3 separate regions of the Homo sapiens genome follow, and regions 2 and 3 are each linked to region 1. Evidence: promoter capture Hi-C in 16 types of primary human blood cells and fetal thymus (Javierre and others, 2016). All regions are on one chromosome and are shown on one strand. Each heading gives the region's core, a stretch centred on a gene start or on the middle of the fragment in contact. The rest is flanking DNA. Distances are from core to core; before and after follow the strand shown.

Region 1 (4,976 bases), core at 1,604-4,103:
TGGAGAGGATGTGGAGAAACAGGAACGCTTTTATACTGTTGGTGGGAGTGTAAACTAGTTCAACCATTGTGGAAGACAGTGTGGCTATTCCTTAAGCATCCAGAACTAGAAATACCATTTGACCCAGCGATCCCATTACTGGGTATATACCCAAAGGATTATAACTCACACTACTATAAAGGCACATGCACACGTATGTTTATTGCAGCACTATTTAAAATAGCAAAGACTTGGAACCAACCCAAATGTCCATCAGCGATAGACTGGATTAATAAACTGTGGCACATATACATCATGGAATACTATGCAGCCATAAAAAAGGATGAGTTCATGTCCTTTGCAGGGACATGGATGAAGCTGCAAACCATCATTCTGAGCAAAGCATCACAAGGACAGAAAACCAAACACCACATGTTCTCACTCATAGGTGGGACTTGAACAATGAGAACACATGGACACAGGGTGGGGAACCTCACGCACCCACACCGGGGCCTGTCAGGGGGTGGGGTGCTGGGGGAGGGATAGCATTAGGAGAAATACCTAATGTAAATGACAACTTGATGGGTGCAGCAAACCAACATGGCACATACATACCTATGTAACAAACCTGCACGTTCTGCACATGTACCCTAGAACTTAAAAGTATAAAAAAAAAAACTGACTAAAATCTCATCTGCTTTTTATTTCCACCTATATATACAACCATATGTGTGTTATAAATGTTTCTGATATAAAGGATGTGTAATAAACAATACACAAGTAAAAGGCAGACACTCTTTATTGTCAGTTCTATCTACTTGACTGATTCTCACAGAAAGCTTTGCTTCTTTTTTGCCAAAGGCTTGTATCTGAATCCATCCAATGCTTGTAACTCAACCATGATGTGACTAGTGAAATTACATACCGATCCACTTTTTGCCAACAAATTTATTGTCCTTAAATCTGATATGTGATCTGTTAAACTACTTCTTACCCTTGTATAAACTCATTAAACTGCAATCTTGTTTCAGCACTAAACACATTTTTAAGTTTAATCTACATTATTAACATCTTCCCCATCACTTTCTGAAGTCTAGAGACAATCAGCAAAACAAATCGATCCCTGATTCATGATTCATAATGTTGGCTAATTTCCATGGTGTAAATACTTCGACCATGGCCCATTACAGTCTACCAACGAGACATCACTGAGTGTGGGCCGGGAAAACGCACGTGCAGTAAGCACATTATGATACGTAATACTGGAAATGGTAGGAAGTGGACAGACTTCAGAGTTATTTAGGAAGTAGAATCTTGGCGATTTGTTAGATGCCGAGGTGAAGGCAGAGTTTGGGAAACACTGGATAGTGGTGTCTTCACTATCACAGGGAGACAGGGAGTTGAAAGCAAGCAGGGAAAGGACGCATTCAGTTTTGGATGGGTTCCATTTGAGGTGCTTGTTACCAGGAGTAGCTGAATAGGAAGCTAGATAAACGGATTTGGAGCTCAGAGGAGCAAAGATTAGAGTTGCAAATTTGGGATATATTGATTTAAATGTTGACAGCAGGTTAAATCATTCAGGGAAAAATTGTGGAGTAAGAGGAAAGGTCTGAGACCTTGAAAACTCTGTTATTTGGTGGTCACCCAGAGTAGACAAGCACGCCAAGACTGGGGACAGACAGGAAAGTGGAGCACCCCCGCCACAGGAAGACGTGTTTTAAGGAGAAAGAAGGAATTTTGCTCAGATCAGTTAACACGAGAAAGGAGAGTGTCCTTTGACTTTAGTGATGTGGATGCTACTTGCGACAATTAAAAAGGCAATTTCACCGAGTGTGAAAACGAACACGTGGAGTTGAGAGACCACAAAACTGGGGGCAGGCGCCTCTTTCACCAACTTCAGCGATGGAAAGTAGAAGAGGGTGGCAGCAAGGGTACGTGGAGTAGAGAATCTTGGAATGATGAAATGCCGAGGATACGGATTCCAGTCCAGAGGGAGCAACGGATCGGATTCTGCGATACTGGAAAAACAGAAGGTGGGGGGGGGGGCTCGGTGATGGAGGGAGCAGGTGTGCAGTTTTGCCGGTGGAAAGTGGAAGTTTCTCTTTTCTCCTGAAGCAGGCGGCAAAGACCTCTGAGAGTGGGAGTGTGGTGGGTGTGCCGGGCCCCTGGATGGGAGTGGAGGTTTGGAACCAAGTGGCCCGAGCCTGCGGTGAGTGGGCCCGCCCTGGGTGGCTCTGGCCGCAGCAGGGTCGATGGGGCGGCATGGTCTCGGCGGGAAGAACACGGCTTCAGTCAGTTCTGTTCTAAGAAGCAGAAGGTGGAGATACGCATGTTTTAAACAACTCCTCCCGGACAGGAAGAAGTGGAGTTCTGGCTGTTCTGCGAGGACGCCGCAGTCCCAGCGTGGAGACCACCGCGCAGGCGAAGCGCGAGACAGGCCAGAAATAGGGTCCCGCGCGCGGACCCCGGAGGAAAAGCGAGGGCTCACTCGGTTTCCCGCAGCCAGCCTCGCCCGACCCAGCTGGGGCCGCCCCTTCCCGCCCCGGCCCCGCCTCCGCCTCAGCTCCGCGCCCACAACCCGGCTTCCTCCTCTCCCGCCGGGTCCGTCTGTCCCTGCGCCTCCTTCGCCGCCGACTAGCGCCCCCTGGCCTGACGTCACCGGCGCGTCCGCCAATGAGCTGAGGAGGGACTTGGCTGTGGCCTGAAAGTGACGGGAGCAGCAGCCAATGGTCGGGCGGAGGGGGCGGGCCGAGACTGGTGCTGGGGGGCGCCCGCGCGCGTGGGGAGCTGCGGGAGGCGCGGCGCGGGGGGGGTCGGGTGCGCGGCGGGCGGCCCCTCCCCCTGCCAGGTCCGGGCGGGTGCCTGGAGCCGCCAGAGTTTCCGCACCCGGGAGGGAGATGCGGCCGGGGCTCAGGCTCCTTGCAGGTAACGCGCGGGGCGGCCCCTGCAGGGCCGAGCGCGCCGCGGGGCGAGCGGAGTTGGACGCGGAGCGGGCGCGGGTTCCCCGCTGCCGCCGTGTCCCGAGCCCCGCACGGCGGCCCGGGCCAGAGCGGCGCTGCTGGAGGAGTTGGTTCCGGGACCTGAGCTGCGGCCCGGGCCGGGGTCACGGGGGACGCGGGCCCCTGTGTGAGCCGCACATGGGACAAAGGGCGCGGCGTGGAGGCTGCGCGCCCCGCCCGCCGCGCTCGGGCCCCTGAGCTTCTCCGCCCGGGCAGAGGTCGCCGCCCCCAGCCCCTGCCTGCACAGCCGCGCCGGCGCTCCCTCGGCCCGGGCGCACCCGGCGCCTGCGGCGCGTCCCCGGAGCGGCCATCTGGCCGCGGGGCCCCGCGCCTGGCCGCCAGCTGGCCGCGGCGCAGGCGATGGCTGGACACAGCCGGGCCGCTTGGCCGCCTGCCCTGGGTTCCGCGGCGGCTCCCCCGCCGCGCCGCGAGCGCCTGCTACTCCACGCTCGGCTGCGGAGCGGAGCGGCGCGAGCGCGGGGCCACCGGCCCGGGCGCCCGGGGCCACCGAGCCGCCGCTTCCCGGCGTGGGCTCGGAGTTTGGGGAAGCCGAGCAGGTGGCGCAGCCACTGCCCACCTCCTGCGAACTCTGCGGGGCTTCTGGTCTTGTTGATGTTGTGGCTATGGGCTGCGTGTGTGTTTTTCTTTTTTTTAAACCACACACAAAAGAAGGGAGGAGTTAGAGGAACGATCTAGCCACTATGAGTCATCCCACACTTCGCTCTTTCCCCGGGAGAGCAAATAAATGCATGGGGAGAATGTCTTGAGAAACAGTTATAGTAGGGACTGACTAGGTCCCCTCCCTGTCCCTTTTCTCTGCAGTCCTGTCTGCGCCGGGCGCGCCCCAGATGGAGTGGGGTAAAATCACGGCCAGTGCACCTAGATAGGGGAAATGGCTACAAGCTAGCAAACTGGAAACTTTCTGGGACAGTGGAACTGTGAATATCAAACCACACACATTCTTGCTATAGGCAGCCATGGCCCTCGTGCGCTACTGAATTATAAAATGGGAAGGCCGTCACAGCAGGACGATACCTTAGCCTTCAGTAGCATGTATTCAGCACTGCACGGAGGAGGGCGGTGGTGGTGGCTCGCGCCCCTGCCTTGAGGGGCCCAGGGTCTGATCAGTCAGGAAACTGCCAGGCCCAGGGATGCAGGGTCACAAACGATTGTGTTCTCTAATCTGATTCCCAGAGGCGCTGTCACCTCTCAGCGTGCATAGGATGGCTGGCTATGTGATTGAATGTTACAGATGAGGTAGAAAGGCTGGGCAGAGGTCAGCAGGCCCCTGGATGCATGGAGGGGAATATTCTTCTGTAGGTGGCTGCTGCTAATTTTTCCAAGGGGAAACATTTAGGTTTGGTCTCGCCATTCTGTTTACCGCAGTCCAGGCTGCCGTGTCAGCTGTCATTGGGCCCTCATGGTTCACAGCTGGATGACATTTGTTTTTCTGGGGTCCCTGTGTGGGGTCTTTTTGGCCTTCTCACTGATGATTAATTTGTTTTAACCTCCTGAAAACAGAGGCTCGATATGAGAAGTTTGAGAAATTGTAGGATAAAGGGACGTCTGCTTTGTTCCAGATTCAGCCCCTGTTGAGGGGCCAGTTGATTCTGTCGCAGGAGTCAGGTAGCGAGCAGAACACTGACTTCATTCCTCCTGGGTTGTGCCCTCTGCTTGGCCTGTAGCAGAGGCCACAGTGGGTCTCTCTTTTTGTTGCTTCATAAGGTGAACTAACGATCCAGCTATGGCAGAGGAGCCAGGGAGCCCAGGCAGGACATCATGTGGAGAAGAGGGACCAGAAAGTTCAACCTAGGGCCCATCTGGAAGAAAACAGAGCATCCTTTCCTATTTCATGTCCTGACTGTAAAAAATGGTGGAGGCCGGGCACGGTGGTTCACACCTGTAATCCCCATGCTTTGGAAGGCTGAGGCAGGAGGATCGCTTGAAGCCAGGAGTTTGATTCCAGCCTGGGCAACATAGTGAGACCCTGTCTCTACA
Region 2 (4,976 bases), core at 1,791-4,290, 2.7 Mb after region 1:
TACAAAGAAAGTAAAAACCTAGTATCTGAATGTTTTCACTAGGAATAAAGAGACTAAGAGAATAACAGTACTTATTTCCAATTGTTCTTTATGAGAAAATGTGCTGAATGCTGATAACTATCCCCAAAGTGATGTAAGTGATAAAAGATTTACAACAGGCACCAATTGGAATTCAAGCTAAACCAGACACTGGTATTTAGTTCAATAGAAGAGAGATTCCCCACTAGGCTTGACAATAGAGACTTAAGCAACTGGAGGGAACAGAGAGAATTAAACTAGCTTACTAATTACAATGCTGTTCTGCTTTGTAACACATGAAAATTTCTATTATTTTCATGCTGGGATTAAAAAGTTATTTTGGCGAAAAATTATCTCAAGAGTTACCAGAAAGCATTAATTTTTTTTTTTAAAGCATCATCATATCCCCAAGGCAAACTGGTGCAATACATGCATATCACTTCTAGGAACAAATGCTACTTTTCAGTATTCTACAAGCAAACCTGGCAAAGTATGCAAAGATAGGTATACATGTACTCCTGCGCATAGTACTATTTTTAAAAGAGCAGGTCACTGGAAACCGCAATATCCATTTCATAGAGGGTTGCTTATATAAATATCTATCCATATGATGTATAATCTATAGCTGACCAAAACCTCACTTATGAGGCAATGTGAAATATAGAGTGAAAAATTCAAGTTGCAAAATAGTGTAAATAGTATTATAAGCCCATTAAGTAAAAAATGAATGTGTATGTTAAATTTTCAGCGAAGATTCACGACACAAGCGGTCACCTTTGGGAAACGGGATAAGAAACGATTCACTGTTTGAATTTTTACCCTGAACATGTATTACATGTATAATAAATAAAAACTTAATGAAGTGAATAGTAGAAAATGCTTTTTCACATAGAACCGAATTTTGGGTGTGTTTACTTCACTTAATATAAAACCCCTAAGTGTAACCAGCATATCCACCATCTATTCAAAACAACGATTACCACCGTCGTTTCAAAGACACCTGGAAAAGTCTTCAGGCCTGAGTTCAGAAGAGGACTTGCAGTCAATTTCATTGGCTATATGTAAAATTAATTTTTGTTATTTAAAAATATCTGGCTGAACATCCTTCACTTAATCTTATGAAACTCTACAATCGCATGGTTGCAAAAACCCCATATATAACCAAGTTTGGCGGTCAGCTAAGAAACTGGAAAGTTTCTCCCTCCCCTGGAAGTATCCCACAAGAATCGTGGTCTCAACGCTGAAAATGTAACATCAGTCTTCTAGTGAACTTGGTAAATGAGCTTACAGATATATTTAAAATACTGTCACTTGAAAGTCTCTCCACATTTTGGAGGCCAGGAACAAGAGGTGGTTTGAAAAAAAGAGATTACGGTTAGATTTAATGAAGTTGAAGACTTAAACATATGGTACTGGCCCAGTTAAACAACGGAAGTCCCACTACATCCCATTTATCCCACGATTCTCTAGAGAGCAAAGAAAATTTGTCTGAAGAGCAGAGTAAGTGTATTATAAGCCCAGAGTAAGGTGGAAACTGCATAGAAAGAAACCCTAAAGGCAACTTCACAAAACTGGAGGTGGGAGGGGGTAGGGAAATCTGGCTTCTGATGTTAGGAACTAGAATGAGAAAGAACTAAATGGAAAAAGGCAGTAGGGACAAGGCAGGGCACATATTTAAAAAGAGAGGGACAGACGGTGTGGGAGATGAGCAGGGGTAGAAGCAGGCGTGACGGGTCAGGTAGCAGCCAGGGTTTGGGAGACCCACAGCGCTAGGCTGGGTGGAGACAGCGGCTGGAAGGGCAGTGGGGGCTCCCACTGGGAGAAAGCGGGAAAGGGGCAAGCGGGGAGCTGGGAAGCGGGGTGGCCAGCGAAGTTGGGGCCCCGGGCCCGCCCGGCACCCCACACCTGGACGGGGGCGCGTCGGGAGCGGCCGCACGTGGGTGCGAGCGGCGGCGGGGAGGTAACTGGTGCCAGGCGCCGCGGCAGCAATGGCCGGAAAAGCCCGGGGGCACGACCGGGAGCCGCGGGCCGCCTCACACGTGGGCTGCGCGGCCGCCGCCCGCCGGGCCCAGCCTGCGCGGCCGCCGCGGACCGGCCGAGGCCCGGTGCGGCTGGCGTCGGTAAAGGGTCGGCGCGCCGGCCAGGGCGCGAAGACTGGGGCGGCGAACTCGGTTACCTCTGCCTGTTTCCGGACCACATTGTCGGGGCTGAGCAGGTTTCCCAGGAGCAGGTAGAACTGTTGCTGCTCCGCCGCGGCCGCCGCCATTGCGCTAGGCGTGAGAGAGAAGGAGGGAGGGGAGACAGGAGCCGTGAGGCGCGCTCGCGGGCCGCGGGAGGGGCGGGGGCGGGCCCAGCGCGGGGACCGGCACCAGCGGCGGCGCGGGGCTTGCGGGGGGCCGCGCGGGAAGGGCGGGGCAAAGGGGAAAGGGGAGGACGGGGCGGGGCCTCGCGGCCTCTCACCCCGCCGCGGCCGCCGGCGCCGGCGCCTCACTGGCCTTGGGCGCAGGGGGGCGGGGCCGAGGACGCCTCCTCGGGGGCCGCGCTGATTGGCCACGCACCCTGCGGTGCCGTCAGTGGCCGCGCATCGGGGGCCGCCGGCTGTACGCCGGTTGGGTAGGCTGGCGGCTTCGCAGCCGGGCCAGGGCTGGGATCGGGGTCGGGGTCGGGGTTGAGGTCGAGGTCGAGGCCTGGGCTGGGGCCAGGGCTGCGTCGCGGGGACAGCGGGAGGAGCCGGCCGGCGGGCCCGGCCGCGGCAAGGGGCCTGAGGCCTGGCCGGGGAGGAGGGGCCAGCTGCTGAGCGCGGGAGATTTCGGCGCCGCGGGCTGGTCGGCCTCCTTCTAGCGACCCCCGGCCCCTCCCCGTGGCCGCTGGAGCAGGCCCCACCCCTTTGGTCCCTCGCTCCCTGGGATCCAGCCCTTCACCCACCCCCAGGAAGGCAGTCCCTTTAGACCCACTTCCTACGTACCTTCTACTCACGGACTTCTCGCTTTCAGACCCTCCGACCTCCCCCAGGGCTGTGGACTCAGGGCGCCCCTTCCTCCCGTCGCGCTCTCCAGTGACTCACGCCTGGGGCTTGCCCGGAAGAGGGGTTACTCAGCCCGGGGCTGTCCCGCCAGGCCGCCCGTCCCCAGCCCGCGGTCGTCTTCGGATGTACACGTAGCAAACATGCCCCCACCCCAGGATCTGTGACTGTTCCCTTGAATCCCTTGTTTAGGGATTCTGTTCTCGCAATGATTGGGGAACGTCAAGAGAGACACCTTTCTTCCTAAAGGAGCCCTGGTTTACAGGGCTGATTATCTCAATCTCAGTCTAGGAACCTAGAGGCGTAATTTCAATTTCAGCATTCTAATGCGCAGATAATACACGCGATGTTCTTTAACTCCTGGGGCTGCCAAAGGCAGAGAGCAGTGTACAAATCAGAGGGTACTTTTGTTGAGACCCTGTTGTATCCAATACATTGGGCTAAGGGTGTCAGTGGAAGCCTTGCTCTGTCGCCTAGGCTGGAGTGCAGTGGCGCGATCTCGGTTTAGTGCAACCTCTGCCTCCCGGGTTCAAACAATTCTCATGCCTCAGCCTCCCAAATACCTGGGATTACAGGCATGTTCCACCATGCCCAGCTAACTTTTTTGTATTTTTAGTAGAAACGGGGTTTCACCAAGTTGGCCCAGTTGGTCTCGAACTCCTGACCTCAGGCGATACCAGCCCCCCCCGCCCTCCCCCCGCCTCGGCCTCCCAAAGTGCTAGGATTACAGGCATGAGCCACTGCGCCCAGCTACAAAAACAATTCATTTCTGCCCCAAAGGGACACTACATCTCTAGTGAGGAGGTTTCATACTGGGTGAGATGGAAGAGTAGTTCTACACCGCTGGCAGTACATAGTATTTAACTTAGGGAATTTAATTTCCTGTTGGCTATTCTGCTGCAGTTCTGCTCTTTGAAAGTCAAAACATTTGCTCTTTGGTGAATGATTTTAAATCTTGGCCACTGTGTTTAGAATCTGGGCTGAGCCCTGGGATCCACGTGCAATTGGGATGGCCAGCCAAGATTTTTTTCTAAAGGATTCTAATTGGTTCCTAGAGAAAATTCTCTTAGAAAGTTTTGGGCCATGACAATGATGGGTTCTCTACAGGAGGTCTGCAGACCTATCTTTGTTGAATTTATATTTCTTAGATGTGACAAGTTTTCATTCTTATGCCACGTTATTTCTTCTAGACAAACCACTATGCACATTACTTTGGGGCAGCTTTTTTTTGTTTGATTTTGATTTTTTTTTTTTTTTGTGGGTCGTTGGGGTATCTGGATTCTGAGGAGGTTTCATCATCAGCCAAGGTTATTAAGGTTTTAAGAATTACAGGCCGGGCAAGGTGGCTCACGCCTGTAATCCCAGCACTTTGGGGGGCCGAGGTGGGCGGATCACCTGAGGTCAGGAGTTCGAGACGAGCCTGGCCAACATGGTGAAAGCCCGTCTTTACTAAAAATACAAAAATTAGCCAGGTGTGGTGGTGGTGGGCGCCTGTAATCCCAGCTACTCGGGAGGCTGAGGCAGGAGAATCACTTGAACCTGGGAGGTGGAGGTTACAGTGAGCCGAGATCGTGCCATTGCACTCCAGCCTGGGTGATAGAGCAAGACTCCGTCTCAAAAAAAAAAAAAAAGAATTTCAGACAAAAACAACTCATTCAAATGACTAGGTTAACAGTGAAATATGATAAATTGCTTAGAGGCTGCTTAGGGCATGGCCCGATCTCCAGTTACTTTTTAACACCTGTTGCGATATGTGTTTCTATTGGCAATGAGTCTGTAGGTTACATATATTTGCTTAATAGTTACTAAATAATAGAAATTCCAATCAAGTTTGCAGATATTTGTTACTATTATTATTATTGTTATTATTATTATTTTGAGACAGAGTCTCACTCTGTTGCCCAGGGTGGAGAGCAGTGGTGTGATCTCACTGCAG
Region 3 (4,976 bases), core at 1,522-4,021, 2.1 Mb before region 1:
TCAGCTCAAATGTCACTTTCTGGGGGAAACCTTCTTGGCTTCTCAAACTAGGCCAGGTGACCCGGTACAGACTCTAGTACCTTCCTCACACAGGTCTTACCAGGTGGCAATTTTACACTTACTTCTGTGCATATCTGTTCATATGATCAACGTCTGCATCCTGCAAGTCTGGTTTTCCAGATTATTGTATCCCCAGGGCCTAGGATTTGTAGACGTCTCATTCAACAGATAATTTTTAAGTGTTTGCATCATGCCAGGCATTACTGTAGGCCCTCATTTTGATTGATTGCGGTTCCCTCTTCCAGGCAAGTGAGGTGTTGCTATATTAAGATTTACTAAGCCGGCGTGGTGGCTCACACCTGTAATCCCAGCACTTTGGGAGGCTGAGGCGGGTGGATCATCTGAGGTCAGGAGTTTGAGGCCAGCCTGGCCAACATGGTGAGACCCGTTTCTACTAAAAAAAAATAAAAAATAAAAAAATACAAAATTAGCCGTGCATGGTGGCGCATGCGTGTAGGCCCAGCTACTCAGGAGGCAAGGCTGGAGAATCGCTGAACACCAGAGGTGGAGGTTACAGTTGCACCATTGCACTCCAGCCTGGGCGATCAGAGCAAAACTCCGTCTCAAAAAAAAAAAAAAAAAAATTTACTACTAAGAATGACTGCAGGACCTCAGGCTCAACTAATAGCTTACTCATAAAATCATGTCATAAGCAATAGAAATATGGTTTGCTCGTATGCAAAGCAAAAATTTATAAAATGGCAAGTTTAAAAAGCACCGCCAGAGTCATGATTGTTCAAAGTCACTGAACGAAGTGTTCTGTAAAATAAACGTCCATTTGTAAAGCCAATCTTCATCGCCTAGGTTGTAGTCTTTTCAGGTTATATTTTGTCTGTATTCTCAAGTATCAAGTTTATGAGAGAACCAAACATCTCTAAAAACCTCTTCAGTAAAGCCTTTTCGTATAACAAAATACCCTGATCGATATCCTGTATAGAAGGCAACTGAGGAGCAGGGGCATTCCGGTGACCTCGTAAGGGTCGAATATGCGCGGGAGGGCGAAACCAGAGGCGCATAGCCCCCGGCCGAGCTAATGCCACCCTTCCCACCCGGTGTCCTCCCGCGCCCTCCAGGCCCCTTCCTCCCCTTCAGACCTGCGGGTCCCCAGAGCCGAGGCGCCAGCCTGTCAAAAGATACCGGGAGTCCTCCGCGCCTGGCGCCAGCCTCCAGCCCGCGCCCCTGGGGAGGCCGGGAGCGTTTCCACCACCGTCCTCTGACAAGCTCGCCGCTCGGCCGGGCTCCGAGGCCGCCGGGACGGAGTAGACAGTCGCGCAGGCCAAGCCCCGCCGCGCAGAACCAGTGCGCGCGGAGGCGACGCGGGCAGAGAGGAAGGAGCGCGGCTGCGCTCCCTGCCCGTGGCCAACCCAGCCCGCGCCTCCGCGCGTGTCGCGGGCACCCCGAGTCCCCAGCCCGCAGAGCCCAAGGGCCGCCGAGGCCTCCTCGCCCCTACTCCCTCCTCTACCTTCCCTCACCGGCCGGAAGACGAGGCTCTCCGCCAGGGGGAGCGCGCCGAGGCCCGGGGGTGACCGCCTCGAACATGCTTGCCCCGGGCCCCGGGGACGCTGTTGGTGTTAAAGGGGGCCCACGGGCAATTGCTGCATCCGGGCTAAGAGCTGGGGCTCCGATTCGACTGTTTGAGTAAACGAGTCGGTATCATTAATAATGACAATTGCACAAAAGAAAATAGGAAAGAAACCCCCTTTCCTGGCGCCGAACCAGGCCCGCCTTGGCTCGGAGCCACCGGCTCTTCTGGGTTTTCGGGGCAGCTGGCAAGAGGGAGGCAGGCAGAGGAGGCGGCTCCGGGTCCGACTGCCAAGCTGACCAGGGCGGTGAGCCCGTGACTCCTGGCGGCGGCCCAGACCCGGGTGCTGGCGTGCAGGGGAAGGCGACGGCCGCTGCGCGCTGGTTCCCGGACCCTGCCCAGCGTGGCGTGGAGACCGACGGCCGCACAGGGGTCACCGGTATCCACATGGACACCTCCTAATCGAGCTTTGTTCACCAGAGGGCTAGGCCCTTCTTTCCCTGGCGCTTCTCTTCCCCCCGCGACACAGCTCTTCCCCCTACTCCTTCCCGGGAGAGCGCGCACCCATGCAGTGGCCTCCATCTGGACGCCACGGGGCTCGGAGAGGCGATGACCCCTGGCAGCCCAGGCCGGTATCGAATTAAGTAAAAATTTTGAATGCCCAGGTGGCTGCGCGTAGAGCGGCAGCAGGCCGGGCTGGCGGCGCCCAGGTGCCCAGCGGAGGGCCAGGCGCTCAGAGCGCACAGCCGGCCGCCACCTCGGCCCCTGCCCCCCGCCCCGGGGTACCTCTGGCCTGTCGGGTGGGGTCGGGTCGCTGCGGCCGCGGCGGAACCCGGCTCCGGACCTGGATCACAGCATCCAGCGCGCGGCCGGCGAGGCGCCTCCTGTTACCCTGGGGCCGGCGTCCCTCGTCCCATCGGAGCGAGCGAGGATGCTGCGGTGCCCGGCGACAGGTCGTCGGATAGCATTGACAGCACCTTCCTTTCAAGGTGCTTTATGCCTGCCCTCTCCACGTGCGGAGGGCAGGGTGACCAACGCAAAAACCTGAGCTGCGCCTCCAGACCCGTGCGCCCCTTTGATGGGCATCTGTGGTGTTTATCTGTCCCCCGAAAGCGGTGACCGAGAAGTAAATAAATGGGCGAGAGGTGGTAAAATCCTGGCAGTATTTCCGCTCGTCCTGTCGCGAACTACATATCCCAGGGAGCCCGGGGCGCCGGGACGCGTGTCCACCCCGCCATCCACTTGGAGAAGGCGTTACTGAGCCTGGCCCGACGCACGGGCCAATCCCCTCGCCCTACACCTTGGCTGGAACCTGAGACGGATTCGCTCCCAAATGATGCTCCAGTGGCAGGAGCAACTCAAGTTCATCATTGTCCTGAGAGAGAGGAGCAGCGCGGTTCTCGGCCGGGACAGCAGAACGCCAGGGGACCCTCACCTGGGCGCGCCGGGGCACGGGCTTTGATTGTCCTGGGGTCGCGGAGACCCGCGCGCCTGCCCTGCACGCCGGGCGGCAACCTTTGCAGTCGCGTTGGCTGCTGCGATCGGCCGGCGGGTCCCTGCCGAAGGCTCGGCTGCTTCTGTCCACCTCTTACACTTCTTCATTTATCGGTGGATCATTTCGAGAGTCCGTCTTGTAAATGTTTGGCACTTTGCTACTTTATTGCTTCTTTCTGGCGACAGTTCCAGCACTCGCCGAGACCGGCGGAGAAAGGCAGCTGAGCCCGGAGAAGAGCGAAATATGGGGACCCGGGCTAAAAGCAGACGTCGTCCTTCCCGCCCGCTATTTCTATATTCAGGCAGTGGATACATCAGGGAATAAGTAAGTCGAGAAACGGCTCCTTACCTATTTTGGATGGCGGTTAAATCTGTTTCTCCCTTTAAGATTTTTCTTTCCAAGAACTCGTTTCTCCACAGCAGTTTATATTCCAGGATATTTGGTTACCCATTTTTCTCTGTAGCTGTAGAAATTGTTCCGAATTATAATATATGCAATATAATGTATTGTATATAACATATAAAATAATCTCCTAGCAATTTTGATTCAGATTCCCACATTATCAGGGCAAGACAAAGTCCCTCCACTTTGCTGGAAATACTGTTTCTAACTACTTTTCGCATAAGCTATTATAAGGGATTTAAACCTAGTTGTTAGAGACTTGATGGGCTTCATCTTTCTCTGGTGCGGCCCTCAATTTTCAAGGAGACATCTGCAGGTAAGCATGTTTTGAAACTGAAAAAGAAAAATGAAGTACTATTTGAAACTTCAGAGTTCGGAAGGAAAGTATCGAAGTATTAATCTCCTATATGATTGTAACAAATATTTTGTTCCAATGAATTTAATACTTTAACATCATACTTAAAACTTATTTTTATAATTCCTATACTTCTGAAATGATTGTCTCTATTATTGGTGGATGCTGACTGTGTGTATTTCATACAGAAAAAAATACTGGAATAAAAGGTTGTCAAGTAAAAGGCAGGTTGTAAATTTTGTTATTTGGCAAAAGATGATACACTACCTACTACTTTGCTTTTGCCCATGGCTGAGCGTGAGTTTTTTTTTTTTAAGACAGGGTTTCACTTCCTAGCCTAGTCTGGAGTGCAGTGGTGCAATCACAGCTCACTGTACCCTCAACCTCCCAGGCTGAAGCTATCCTCCCACCTCAGCCTCCCTAGTAGTTGGGACTACAGGCGTGTGCCACCTCGCCTGGCTATTTGTTTTTTATTATTATTATTATTATTTGTAGAGACAGGATCTCACCTTGTTGCCCAGGCTGATCTCGAACTCCTGGCCTCAAGCAGTCTTCCCTCCTTGGCCTCCCAAGATGTTGAGATAGTAGGCATGGGCCACAGTGCCAGGCCTGAGCGTGATTTATAATACTGATATTGTAAAGATTCATTGGCAGAGATTTTTCAAAATAAGATCATTATCTTTGGGAGCATCATTTGATCACAAATATCCAGATGTGATAGCATGAAATAAGTTAGTAAGAATATTTTTCCATATGGAATGCATGAGTATGTTCTGTGCTTATATAGATTAATAGTCTTAACATACTCCATTGTGACTGTTTAATGAAACTGTTTCATGTTATCTTGGCCATTGTCATCCTCATTTTTTTAAATCTCTGATCCATCATATTCATTCTGGTACTAAAAGCATAAGAGAAGAAGAAGCAATCATATGTTAGAGGAAGAATGTGGAGGAGAATAATCAAGTTTCCAGACTGAAGAGCATAACCTTTGTGTGTTTGTTCGTTAAAATCTGTTTATCTCCCCCATTGCCTTTTCATCACAGATTCACATCTTCTCCAGGCGAAAAGGTCTTCCAGGTGAAAGTCTCAGCACCAGAGGAGCAATTCACTAGAGTTGGAGTCCAGGTTTTAGACCGAAA

Evidence for each region. Contacts are between HindIII fragments. The CHiCAGO score rates a contact against its expected background, and 5 or more counts as called.
Region 2: a fragment that was not itself captured here is called in contact with the fragment with the promoter of TMTC4 in region 1 in 2 of 17 cell types (monocytes and naive B cells); the score reaches 6.6 in monocytes.
Region 3: the fragment with the promoter of BIVM here is called in contact with the fragment with the promoter of TMTC4 in region 1 in 1 of 17 cell types (non-activated CD4 T cells); the score reaches 5.6 in non-activated CD4 T cells.

The regions. Positions count from the first base shown.
Region 1 is chr13:100,672,672-100,677,647 of GRCh38, reverse strand. It overlaps TMTC4 (transmembrane O-mannosyltransferase targeting cadherins 4), which reads left to right and starts at 2,853. Exons shown (of 19, transcript NM_032813.5): 1 at 2,853-2,904. RefSeq lists enhancers at 2,183-2,262, 3,588-4,477 and silencers at 2,453-2,952, 2,983-3,342, 3,393-3,472. The HindIII fragment of the contact is 7,703 bases long and covers 821-4,976 here.
Region 2 is chr13:97,974,005-97,978,980 of GRCh38, reverse strand. It overlaps IPO5 (importin 5), which reads right to left. Exons shown (of 29, transcript NM_002271.6): 4 at 2,195-2,288. The coding sequence starts at 2,284. Among named protein-coding and RNA genes, the nearest start is that of IPO5, 23 kb to the right of the region's middle. RefSeq lists silencers at 1,784-2,133, 2,314-3,043. The HindIII fragment of the contact is 7,323 bases long and covers 1-4,976 here.
Region 3 is chr13:102,796,914-102,801,889 of GRCh38, reverse strand. BIVM (basic, immunoglobulin-like variable motif containing) reads right to left here and starts at 2,771. Exons shown (of 11, transcript NM_017693.4): 1 at 2,369-2,771. POGLUT2 (protein O-glucosyltransferase 2) reads left to right here and starts at 2,914. Exons shown (of 10, transcript NM_024089.3): 1 at 2,914-3,401; 2 at 4,881-4,976. The coding sequence starts at 3,220. RefSeq lists silencers at 1,145-1,574, 1,605-1,654, 2,215-2,484 and an enhancer at 2,545-2,764. The HindIII fragment of the contact is 9,485 bases long and covers 1-4,976 here.